Linked DNA regions of Homo sapiens: all the other regions are linked to region 1. The links are contacts of gene promoters, found by promoter capture Hi-C in blood cells and fetal thymus (Javierre and others, 2016). All regions are on one chromosome and are shown on one strand. The core of a region is centred on a gene start or on the middle of the fragment in contact, and the rest is flanking DNA. Distances in the headings are between cores, read along the strand shown.

Region 1 (3,054 bases), core at 369-2,868:
ATATCGAGGGAACCTGATCCCAGGGAGGAACCCAGAACAGCATGGGCTGCCAGAGGGGCCCCCAGAAGGGCCCCAGACTGGAGGGAGGGAGAGAGGAGAGATGACGCTAAGGGACTGGGGGAAACGAGGAAGAAGAGTCCTCTGAATTGTTACCATTTCCAGAGGCTTGGTCAGGCCCTGCTCCGGCTCCATCCCCCGGCCCTAGAATTGCTCTTCTGCAGATTATTTCTGTGCTGGGAATTCCCTTAGCTCCAGCCTCCACTGGGCAGTTTATTATCTTAATTCCGCATGAAGAGTGTCCTCCCTCACCCTCCACCCTGCCCTGGACCAGACCTCCAGCCGCGACAATTCTAGGGCCTGGGTGAGGGTCTTACCGTTGTTGGGGGTATGCAAAGCCCCATGGGGGGGTGACCCAGGGCAAAAGGCCAGGCCCCAGAGGGGAAGGAAGTCTTGGGTAGAGCTCCCTGCCTCCCAGGCTGGGCTAAGAAGGGCGATAAGAGGAGCAGATTAGGCAAGAGGAAGTGGGCTGGGCTGAGCTGGACTGGTGCTGAACTCCCTGGGCCTGGGGCAGAGTGTGGGTCAGGCACCTGAGCAGCTGGGGCTGAGCCTGGCCAACCAGAGCAGCCATCCCTCCGCCCCAGCCCCGCTGCAGGCTGGGGTACACAGCAGAGGCGGGCACACGGAGGAGAGAGGAGAGCGCAGTGGAGGCAGGGGCTAGGGCTGCTCAGTGGGGGTCCAGGCCTCAGGCAGTCCCAGAGGCCCAGAGGTGGGAGTCTGGTGAGGTGGGTGAGGGGAGTGATTGCCTTGCCTCATGTGCCCCTCATTTTCTTTCTTTTTTTATTTTTTTCGAGATGGAGTCTTGCTCTGTCGCCCAGGCTGGAGTGCAGTGGCGCCATCTCGGCTCATTGCAAGCTCCGCCTCCTGGGTTCATGCCATTCTCCTGCCTCAGCCTCCCGAGTAGCTGGGACTACAGGCGCCGCTGCCACGCCCAGCTAATTTTTTGCATTTTTAGTAGAGACAGGGTTTCACCGTGTTAGCCAGGATGGTCTCGATCTCCTGACCTCGTGATCCGCCCGCCTCGGCCTCCCAAAGTGCTAGGATTACAGGCGTGAGCCACCGCACCCGCCCGCCCGGCAGGTGCACCTCATTTTCATGGGGGAGGAAGCATTGAGAAAGAGGAGCCGTGTGTTCAGCAAACTTTGCTTATTCAAAACACTCCATTCCAGCTGGGCCCTGTCCCCACCCCACCCCTGCCTCTACGGTGCTCCCAACCTTTGGGGTCAGATGCCCATGCTCTGGACCCTTCCCCTGAGGAGGTCCTTTCTCCTAGTGAGCTCCCTGTGCCTTCCCTCAGTCCAGGCCTGGGCAGCAGTCTCCCCAGCTGGTCTCCATGTCGTCCTTCTCCAGCCCTCCTGGGCCAAATCTGACCAGAGACCACCACAGGGACTGAGAGGCCCTGGCTCCAAGGCGACCCGGCCTCATGACCACGTCTCCGCTGTGAGCAGCGCAGAGAAGGAAGCCCAGAGCAGGAAGTGCTGAGAGGCACAGGGTGGGGCTGGGGGTGGGGGCGGGGGCCTCCAGAAGAGGCGGGGGCTTCCTGCTTCAGCCTCCTTGGGCAGAAGCAGTGACCACAGGCCCCCATGGCAGGCAGGGCGGGTGGGAGGAGGGTGATTTACAAGGCAGATGGGCCTCTGGCTACAGCTCAGTCCTGCACTCAGCCAGGGCCACCCCAGGGGCTATAAGAGCAACTAGATTTCTGGAGCAGCTCGGGGATGGGTGCCATTTGAGCCCAGCTTGGCTCCCCCTCCTGGCTGGCCTCCTTCCTGCCCTTCTGCCTGCCTGTGTCTGCTGAGATTCTGCAAAGAGGAACGCTTGGCACCATGTCTCTGCTCAACCCTGTCCTGCTGCCCCCCAAGGTGAAGGCCTATCTGAGCCAAGGGGAGCGCTTCATCAAATGGGATGATGTAAGTGGGGCAGGGGCCTCAGCTGCTGGAGCACCAGGTGGTGGGGGCCGGGCTGCTACGGGGCTTTGCTTGGGTGGGAGGATTGGTTTATGTCTCCTAGGATCCAGGCGCCTGTGTGGTTTGGCCAGGCAGCTGACACCACTGCTTGGATAAACAAACCTGGGATTAAGGGTGTATGTCCCCAGCTAAAGGGCTAAGCCTTGGTTCTAGGTGTGAGAAGTGGGTGAGCTGCCTGGGTGGTCACTGGAGGTAGTTTATTTGGGTCTGCTTCTCTTCTCCTTCAAACCCCCAAGAGAAGAGGAGGAAAGTGCACCCCAGAGCTGAGGCAGGCTAGGAGGAGAGGTGAGCTCGTCCCCGCTCCCAGCACAGATGTCTTGCCCTTGCTCCGGCAGGGCGCTCAGACCCAGCTCCTTCACCCCCTCCACTGGGCATCATCCTGTCCAGGGAAGCCTTGCTCTCCCCTGCGCTGCTGTGGGGGCAGCCACAAAAGGCCCCTGGACCTAAGTGAGAACTAGAGGCTTCTGCTCCCAGGGAAGGAGCTGATTTGACTTCTGCTACCCCTTGCTGGGCTCAGCATTGCTCCCCGATGCAGGCCTGTCAGCAAGGGAAGGGGAAGACACTGCTGCACCCTGCAGCCCTCTCTCTGCTGTGTCTGTTCCTTCCTACACGGGGCTGCTCCCAGGCTCTGGTTCTCCTGGCCCCTGAAAATGTTACCTTAGGCCAGGGATTCTCTTAGGCTGGAGAGAACAATATGGAGATTCTCCTTCAGGGAGGGGAGGCTGCTGGGCTCGCCCAGTCTGAGAGTTAGAGTGCTGGGCTTGTCCCAGGAAGGGAAATGAAGGCTTGGTGGGGGAGGGAAGACAGCCCTTAGTGCTGACTTGTCCACCTGATGGGAGGTGGGATGAGGGGGTCTGGGTCTAGGCCCTTCGGGGCTGGGCTAGGCTAGGGGATCTCGCTGCCCATGACTATGGGTTGGGGCCCTGTGGTGAGATGCTTCCTGCTTCCCTAGGAGTGATGTGGGGTTGGTGTAGCATGGCAGTGGCATGGAGGTGACATGCCCCAGGAGCCTGTGGAATGAGGGAAGTGGCTC
Region 2 (3,054 bases), core at 307-2,806, 210 kb after region 1:
TAACCAGGGCACACACCATTGTGCCCTTCTGAGCTCTGAAGAAGTTGCCCAGTAGTTTGATGGAGCTGTTCTCAGCTTGAAGGAAACTGAGTAAGGGTCTCAGTAGTTCCTCCCTCCAGGCTGTGGAGGTGCAAAACAAGGGTCTGGGGACATGGATGGTGCAGCACAGCTCTGTCCCCGAACCGTACCCCTCAACCCCCAGTGGCTGGAGCCAGTGTCTTCCAGTTGCGTTAGAGGAAGCCTTGCCATCTTCCACTGAGAGCTGGCTGGCTTCGGACTGCTCTTTTTTCCTTAGAGAAGCAATGGGCGTGGCCATGGTGGCTTCAATGTCCTGTTAACACTGCTGGCTGGGCTGAGGAAGCTCTTGGCAAGGAGTCTTTTTTTTCCTTTTCCGTTTTGCCACGTTGCTCGTTCCTCGGGCCTCTGGGTCAGAAGCAGTCTGAGGCAGTGGGCCCACTGGGTCCAAGGGGTTGCCCTCTGGGTTTCAGAATCCTTGGCTTACCCTGGCAGCCTAGAATCCTGAGCCCCATGGCCTGTGGCTGCTGTGGGCAGTCTCAAAGCAGAAAGTCAGGGATCTCCCAGGGATTTCGTGAGTCTGCCGGGAAGATGGTGCTCCCCAGGCCGGCCCTGTTGCAGAGCATATTGAGAGACGTGCTCTGCAAAGCCAGTGAGTCCCAGGTTTTCCTTGTGCTCCCCAGGGAAGGAGGAGCCTGCTCCTTGCAGCCCCCAGGCCCAGTGCTTCATGTATATTTTTCTTACGTAATCACCACAGCAACCTTGGACTTTTAGACTCCATTGCCACTGTGTTATAGGAAACTGAGGCTCAGAGAAGTGAGGTAACATGTCCAAGTCACACCGTAATTTGCTGAGCTAGGCGTCATACAGATTTGATGGATTCTGGAACCATGGTCCAATCGCCCCATACCTGCTGCCCAGCAATCACATTCCGGAAAACAAGGGTACAAGGAAGCACACATTTGCTGCCCCAACCCGCTCTGCCTCATGTGATACTCAGCTAGGTGCTCTTGCTCTTCTCCCCATTATATTGTAAAACAATTGAGAACCAAGTTTATAATATTTTAATCATCTTTGTATCCACATAACTCTTAGCTCAGTTGGGTGCTTAGTAGCTCAGTTGGGTGCTTGGTAGCTCAGTTAGGTGCTTGGTAGCTCAGTTGGGTGCTTGGTAGCTCAGGTGTTTGGTAGCTCAGTTAGGTGCTTGGTAGCTCAGTTGGGTGCTTGGTAGCTCAGTTGGGTGCTTGGTAGCTCAGTTGGGTGCTTGATAGCTCAGTTGGGTGCTTCATTAAAATGTCCTTATTTCAACAGAAAACATCTTCCTAGCTTCCTTCAAGCAGGAATTTTCCTGCTCTCAATGTTCCTGTTCTTAATTGCAAGGCTCTTTCTTTCAGCCTTGGCCTGAGTAGGTTTAGAGAATGACAGGGAAAAGGGAAGAGGGAGGAAAACTTCACATCGTGGACTGTGCACCTTCCCCTAGAGTATAGACAATTCTGCATTTTGAAGAGATTGAGTGTGGTTTCAGATCACAGTCTGAAGTTATAATTTCAGACCAGTTTTAGCTTTATTTCTGTTTGATCTTCAGTTAGCTCTGCCTCTGAAAGGGTTATTTTTTTCTGGTCCACAGCGTCCTTACTAAATAGTTAATGATCTGGAAACAATGTCTTTAAGCATACTAGGGGAGCAGATCAGTGGTGATTTGCTTTGAAAAAGGTAATGCTATTTTCATAATGTCAATAAACACACTGTAAAATTTTAGTGAAGGAACATAGCTTTGGAGTCAGAAGTCAGGGCCTCAAATTACACCCCTCCCAACTAACTTGGGATGACTTTTCTGAGCCATTGTTTCCGTCGCTCTAAAATGGGTTGATTAATACCTGCTCTTCCTATCGTGAGGATCACATGAGAAGAAAGGAAAGTGCTCTGTTCTGTATCTGAGATATTATAAGTTGCTCTCTGTTTGGTAAATTTGCATTTTGTGAGTTAGGTTCTTTTAGAGCTGCACACGGCTTCGCTTTGCTTCTTCCTCTGATACTTTGGGGTGAATTAGCTCTAGCTGGAGCATCTGGAACACTGGTGACACACAGAGCCCCCAGAGGGTATGAATTGGATCTGAAAAGGGGAGAGGCAGAGGGAGATTCTTATCCAGGGAGCGTAGGGAACACGCTTTGTGCTTAGGGCAGAGGCTGTGTGGGATGAAACAGAGTTTGATTTATGTAATCCAACCTTGTCAGACACCACAGCCAGCTCTTTAGAGAAAAAAAAAAAAAAAAAAAAAAAAGGAGGCCTTTTACTAGTTGGGCCTCTCCCCAGGTGTGAGGCTGATACTATCACATAAAGTACATCTTTAGACCTGGCCAGACATCAGTTGTTCCTGGCCTCAGACAAGTGGGTTATCTTTCAGGGCTGACTCCTCTGTAGTCGGTCCAGCATGCCCTTGTTGAGTGCCTACTGTATGCCTTCCATGTTCCCCATTACACAGGATGAGCAGCTGTGCATTCAGGCATAGGGTGTTGCACACAGTAGGGATTGAAACATTTGTCAGCTGACTGCCTTCATCCCCTGTCCGTGGCAAGAAAATGAGGCTGGGCCAAAGAAGCCGCATGGGGCTCTGATGCCTGCTTGTGCTCTCTTCATTGAAGAGAACACCGTGATCTACCATGTTAGGGCACCTTCCCTGGGGGCATTCACCTCTATTCATTCCCTCCATTCCTTGGCCCTGCCTTCTAAACCATGTGAGTCCGAGGGCTCTAGGGTGAGCTTCCCCTCCTCTGTATCCCAGCCCCGACCCTTGGGTCACCCTGACTGTGTATTCTGGGAACTCCCATTCTGTGAGGGGTTCCCTAGCTGAGTCTAGGAGGGCAGGCCTGGTTCTGGGGATCTGCCCTTGTTGATCTCAGATTGTGCGCTGGGTGCTGTGCCGGGTGCCTGAGGGTCAGAGGCCAAGTACACTCATTCCTGGTTCCCCTCTCTTCCCCTTCTCCTCCACACCCTCTTGTGGAAGATCCCACGTTCTCTGGTGTTTTGGTATCTTTGTGT
Region 3 (3,054 bases), core at 167-2,666, 190 kb before region 1:
ACAGCCATAATGGAAGAGCAAGGGCTTGAATGCAACTTAGCTGATAACCAGTGTATCCCAAGGTTACGTGGATTGATGTCAAGTCCAACAGAACTAGCTTCAAATCCTGGCTCTGACATTTATTAGCTGTGTTACCTCAGGCACATTTTTTCACTCTGACACATGGTTTCATTATGGAAAATGTTGATAAGAACCCTAATTGGCCAGGTGAGTGGTTCTCATCTGTAATCCCAGGGACTCAGAAGGCTGAAGCAGGAGAATCACTTGTGCCCAGGAGTTTGAGACCGGCCTGGGCAACATAGCAAGACCTGTCTCTACAATAATTTTTAAAAAAAGGCTGGGCGCGGTGGCTCACGCCTGTAATCCCAGCACTTTGGGAGGCTGAGATGGGCGGATCACCTGAGGTCAGGAGTTGGAGACCAGCCTGGCCAACATGGTGAAACCCCGTCTCTACTAAAAATTTAAAAATTAGCCAGGTGTGATGGTGCACGCCTGTAATTCCAGCTTTTTGTGAGGCTGAGACAGGAGAATTGCTTGAACCCAGAAGGTAGAGGTTGCAGTGAGCCGAGATCACACCACTTCACTCCAGCCTGGGTGACAGAGTAAGACTCTGTCTCAGAAAAAAACCCCAAAAAACAAAAAACTTAGCTGGACATGATGACATACACGTGTAGTCCCAGTTACTCGGGAGGCTGAGGTGGGAGGATGATTTGAGCCCAGGAGTTTGAGACCACATGAGCTATCATCACACCACTGCATTCCAGCTTGGGTGACAAAGACCCTGTCTCTAAAAAAGAAAAAAGAGAAAGAAAAAAAAAAACCTCATAGATTACTGTGGGGTTAAATGGGATCATGCATGCAAAGTGCTCAGCACAGCACCTGCCCCTGGCCAGTGCTCCATGGAAGTGAATGGTTATTGCCTTGGCAACAAGACCCTTTCCACCTTCACACGCTGCTTCCCAGGAGCTTCTCCTTCCATTCCACAAGGGTTCTTTCTCACTATGTGCCAAGAACCAATGTACTGGATGATGGTTCTGACTCCAAGTCTAGCCTCATCCTTCGCATCACAACTGCTTTGTTGTCGTTTTTGGTTAACATATTATCATCTGCCAGTAGCATACAGTATGATGACTTGACAAACTACAAAGCAAACCCAGAAATACGTGAAATCAAACCATACAGTCCAATTCTGAGACCCCCTCCAAAGAGCCCCCTCATGACTTTGGGGATTGCAGGAATACGTGCCACTCAGTGCTCAAACTGCCTGCATCCCTTCTTCAAGCCCTCTGCAATCTGCAAAAGTGAAGGGGGGGAAGCAGTATCCCTAAGCAGGGGCTGGGCATCCTCACAGCCTCCTCCCTGCCTGGCACTGGTATCCTCACCTATCTGCAGTGTGGTAACACGACCCTTTTCCCCCAGAGCCAGGTTGCCCGCAAGCCAGTAATGAAGTGTTTTTTACAACCCTGAAAGAAATACTTTAATAAAGCATGTGGTTGGATTATCGAACCCACAAGTATAAAAATATTGTGGTGCTCACACATGCAATGCATGCTGGTTAGTGACTGCCTCCAAAAATGTTTTACTTGCCATCACAGAGAAACGGGTGTATTGAAGATAAATGTTTTTAAAAGACCGACACGTAATGAAGTGAATCATAGTTCATTCACTCCTTCAACAAATACTGAACCCTACCACGGACCAGATGAGCAGCATGCTGGAGATGCAGTGGTAGGCAAGAAAGACAGAACTGCTGCCTTTGATGACCTCACCTTATAGAGGGGGATATAGACATGCATCAAATATAGAATTACAAGCTGTGGTAAGAGCTACAGAGGAGAAGGACACAGTGATCAGGGAGCAAACCACAGAGATCTGATCTGGTCTGCAGGTCAAAGGAGGCTGCCCAGAAAAGTAATGACTGAGCTGAGGGGGCACAGACTATGTAATAGAATGGGGGTCTAGGGGAGAAGCCTCAGCATAGGGGAGTGTCCAGGGATTATGCTAGGGTCACCTCGGGGTCTGGGATAACAGAACTCTCTATCAAAAACGTCTTTTATCCAGAGGCCCACTGGGTGTCTTGGGAAATGGCAGAGAGGATGCTGGGATTCAAGGTTGGGCTCTGGGGGCCAGGCGCAGTGGCTCACGCCTGTAATCCCAGCATTTTGGGAGGCCAAGGCGGGTGGATCACCTGAGGTCAGGAGTTCGAGACCAGCCTGGCCAACATGGTGAAACCCCGTCTCTACTGGAAATACAAAAATTAGCCAGGTGTGGTAGCACACCCCTGAAGTCCCAGCTACTTGTGAGGCTGAGGCAGGAGAATCACTTCAACCTGGGATGTGGAAGTTCCAGTGAGCCGAGATCACACCACTGCACTCCAGCCTGGGTGACAGAGCGAGACTCCGTCTCAAAAAAAAGGTTGGGATCCTAAATAAGAAAGGTAGAAAAATGCTGCCCCAAACTTCTGAGAGAAGCAAGCTGGGTGGGCAGGAACTCGTCCTAAGGTAGGAGAGCGCTGGGCCACATGAACACCATCTGGAAGAACTAGCTGGTGTCTCGTTCACAAGCCAGACTATTCAAGGTCTGGCCCAGACTCAAGAGAGCTGGGCTTGATGTCAGTGGAGAAACCATCCCTCCTCTCACATTAGCAGAGATGGCAGCTGCAGTTGAATGTCATGAGGGCCAGGGTAGTGGCCCTGTCTCTTTTTGGCAGCCAGAGGCCACAGCAGTAAGAAAAGGGCAGCTATACAGAGTGGTAGACATGGCAGAGGCAGGAGCAGCAAGGGCAGTTTCAGGTGAGAGTGAGTTGGCAGAGTCAGCCCAGTGGAGAGGAGGGGCCCATGGTGCTGAGGTCTCATCCAGTGACTTCAATGTGCTGGGGGCTTGTCTTAGAGATCATGGAATTGTTTTATGTCATTAACTGAGCTGCAGGTTGTCAGATTACGAAAACATGATGTTACAGCTTAGAAAATGTCCAGAATTGGGAGGTAACATGGCTCATAGTCCCTTGAAACAAGTGGCAGTCTCCTGGGGGACATTTTCAACAGCACTGAGTCA
Region 4 (3,054 bases), core at 272-2,771, 150 kb after region 1:
CTTCAAAATATATACAGAAATCAACCACTTATCATCATCTCCACTGTTTTCCACCTGGCTCAACTCACTTTTGAGCTGAATTATTTCAATAACCTCTTAACTGGTGTCCCTTGCTTCCATCCTTTGCTGCCTTTAGTGTATTCAACACTACAGCCAAAGTGACCCCATTTAAACCCAAGTCAGATTATGTCTTTCCTTTGCTCAAAACCTTCCAATGACTTTTGATTACAACTAGAGTAAAAGCTAAGTCCTTACAATCTGCATCTTCACCATTTTTACATAATATCCTTTTACTCTTCTAGTTAATTCTGCTCCAGTGACAATGGCCTTGGACATGCCAGGTGCAACTTCCTCCCCTAGCTCTCACCCTCAGCCTTTGTACTCTCCTCAGATATAGAACCTCTAGCTTTTGAGATTCCTTCAAGTCTTGACCAAAGTGACATCTCCTCAGTGAGACTCCAGTGTTCAAGTTAAATTGCACCAATCCCCACCCCCAATATTCACTACACCCAGTTGCTTTATTATTTTTTTTAGTACTGACCACATCTCCACCTAACAGTTTGTCTTTATTGTCTGACTCCCCCACCTTCATCCCATGCCAGAACTTAAGCTTCATGAGGGTTGAGATTTTTGTGTCTGTATATTTGCTGCACTCAGAGCTTAGCCAAAAAAATACTTGTTACATGAATGAAAGAGCCCATGACATAGCACTTATCTAGGTATTGCGGGCACCACAGTGAAAACACATACAGATTTCCAACCTAGAACTGCAATATAGTTTTTTTAATACAAGGAAAAGCCGCAAACATGCAGAAAAAGGCTTTTAGATCTCTATGTTATTGGCATAATTTAGATCTCTATGATATTGGCTAAAGGCTTTCAGATCTCTGTGCTATTGGCATAGCACCTGCCATTTGTTGAGCGCTTATTTGGAAGCAGTTACTTAACAAATACTTTGAATTCCCCCAGAACCACGTAAGGCAGCATTAACATCAGCATTTTCCATACAAACGATTTGCCCAAGGTCAAACAACTAGCAGGTGGCTGAGCTGAGTTACAAACAGACAACATTGCAACTTCCAAACTCTTTGTTCCGCTGGGGTCCCGCAGCCTTCTTCGCTTTGAAGCTGGATGCGGCAGGATTCGCACGTGCCCTCAGTCCACTGCGTTTTCACCTCCACCTCCGGCATTCTACTCCAAAAGGAAGGAGGCTCCGGTGGGGTCTGTTCTGACGGTGCCGATCTCCCCCTCGACTGCTCCGAGCGGAGCCTTCTATTACCTACCAGGCCGTGTCCTCTCAGGCCCAGCCCCCAGCAGCTTTCTCCCGTACCTACCTCAGAGCACCCCCTTCCTTCTTCACCGCCGCCATCCTGCATTCCTGGCTCAGGTCCTCGTCCTGCTGCAGGCCTTTCCTCTGGGCCACAGACCGCCTGGGCTTTCTTCCGCAACCTGCCCTCGGAGCTACAGAAGCGACCAAGGCACGTACACGACTCCCTAACAAACCGGCCACCTCAAGCCCACACCCCTAGCCGCCAAGTTTCAAATTTAACGGTCCCGCGCGGTCGACGTGGCCACGCCCCTCCGCTCCTCCGTGCTCTCGCGTCTCGCCCAAGGCATTCTGGGGCTTGTAGTTTATGCCTGTTTAGTCCGCGAACTCGCGGTGCATAATGGGAATTGTAGTTTTTGGGATTCAATGGCCGTGGAAGTGCAGCAGGCTTAGGCAAAACAAATACCCCCAGGTGCTGTCTTGAGTCGCGGCTCGAAGCCGAGTCTCTGAGCCGAGCGAGGAACACTTAAAGCACCAGAACTTCTTTGCTGTTTTGAGTGTTGGGAGATGTCTCTGAGTGCTTGCACTTGGCGTGACTCTTGTAGGGTGACTACCCCTGCTGTCTGCCCCAAATCTCACCCGTCCGGAGTTCTTAGGCCACTGACCTAGCTGTTTCCTGCCCCACCCTTGAATTCAAAAAGCTGGATTCTAGTTCTGTAAAATCATACCAAATGTGCAACCTTAGGCAAGCTACATAATCTTTCTGACCATCAGTTTTCCTCATCTATAAAGTGATGATACTGTCTTGCTTTCTCTTCTGCTCAGTCCACAAGCAGTAAACACAGCCATGCTATGGTTCCCAAGGTGTTACCTCTTTTCCCCTTCAGGGGACTAGCCTTGACTGACATTAAACTGTTTGTTGCAATTTCAATTTTCTGAGGAAGAAATTGTGATAGCTCAGATGTGACCAGGGGAGTAGAGTCTTTTTGTTTGTTTGGTTGGTTGGTTTTGTTTTAGAGACAGGGTCTTCTTCTTGCTCTGTTGCCCAGGCTGGAGTGCAGTAGCCCCATCATGGGGCTACTGCATTCCAGCCTCCAACTCCCGGGGTCAAGTGATCCTCCCACCTCAGCCTCCGCAGTAGCTGCGATTACAGGCATTAGCCACCTTGAGGAAGGAACAGGGTCATTTAAGAAAGCCCAGGTACAGGGGAGTTCTCCTTTATGACTGTGGGGATGGTCAGAGAGGTGGCACTTCCCAGAGGCAGATGCTGAGGATACTGTCCACTACCCTCTGGTTCTTAGTTCCCAGCTTTCTGTCTTTGTTCATGTTATATAAGTCCTTCTTTCCTCTGAATCATCAGGACTCTTGATTCCAAAGAAGTAGAAATCCAACTTAAATCGGCCTACTCAGAAAAGGGAATTTACTGTCTTTTATATATAAAAGACTTCAGATAAAGCTTAACCCAGGACTCATGTGGACTGGGCCTCTCTCCATTTCTCGCCTCTACTCTTGTTGTTGGCTTATTGTCATTCTCCATTGGGTAACAGATTCACGACTTTATCCTTACAGGTTCAAATTCAGACTTAGGAGTCACCCTGCTTAACCCCTTCCTCCCAAACAGTCACTGGGGATAGTGGATTCAGGGCTTTGATTGTTCAGAACCAAGTCATGTGTTTCACCTTGGGACTGAGAGAGGGGAAGGGGTGATTCCTCATAGGAAATTTTGGTTACTCTTTACATCAAAGTCCTCCACATCCAGGAAGCTTTCCTGGATCATATGAGGTGTG

The links. Contacts are between HindIII fragments. The CHiCAGO score rates a contact against its expected background, and 5 or more counts as called.
Region 2: a fragment that was not itself captured here is called in contact with the fragment with the promoter of PLCB2 in region 1 in 2 of 17 cell types (M2 macrophages and M0 macrophages); the score reaches 6.4 in M2 macrophages.
Region 3: a contact is called between a fragment that was not itself captured here and the fragment with the promoter of PLCB2 in region 1, in 1 of 17 cell types (M2 macrophages). The highest score is 5.2, in M2 macrophages.
Region 4: a contact is called between the fragment with the promoter of BUB1B here and the fragment with the promoter of PLCB2 in region 1, in 1 of 17 cell types (naive CD8 T cells). The highest score is 5.2, in naive CD8 T cells.

Annotation. Positions count from the first base shown.
Region 1 is chr15:40,306,499-40,309,552 of GRCh38, reverse strand. PLCB2 (phospholipase C beta 2) reads left to right here and starts at 1,618. Exons shown (of 32, transcript NM_004573.3): 1 at 1,618-1,964. The coding sequence starts at 1,881. The HindIII fragment of the contact is 15,701 bases long and covers 1-3,054 here.
Region 2 is chr15:40,095,396-40,098,449 of GRCh38, reverse strand. All of the region lies in intron 4 of BMF (Bcl2 modifying factor), which reads left to right. Among named protein-coding and RNA genes, the nearest start is that of BMF, 12 kb to the left of the region's middle. RefSeq lists a silencer at 265-314 and enhancers at 511-1,024, 1,698-1,747. The HindIII fragment of the contact is 9,484 bases long and covers 1-3,054 here.
Region 3 is chr15:40,497,229-40,500,282 of GRCh38, reverse strand. No RefSeq gene overlaps it. Among named protein-coding and RNA genes, the nearest start is that of CHST14, 28 kb to the right of the region's middle. The HindIII fragment of the contact is 5,436 bases long and covers 1-3,054 here.
Region 4 is chr15:40,159,536-40,162,589 of GRCh38, reverse strand. It overlaps BUB1B (BUB1 mitotic checkpoint serine/threonine kinase B), which reads right to left and starts at 1,521. Exons shown (of 23, transcript NM_001211.6): 1 at 1,335-1,521. The coding sequence starts at 1,369. RefSeq lists enhancers at 366-1,130, 1,138-1,267, 1,288-1,387. The HindIII fragment of the contact is 2,113 bases long and covers 613-2,725 here.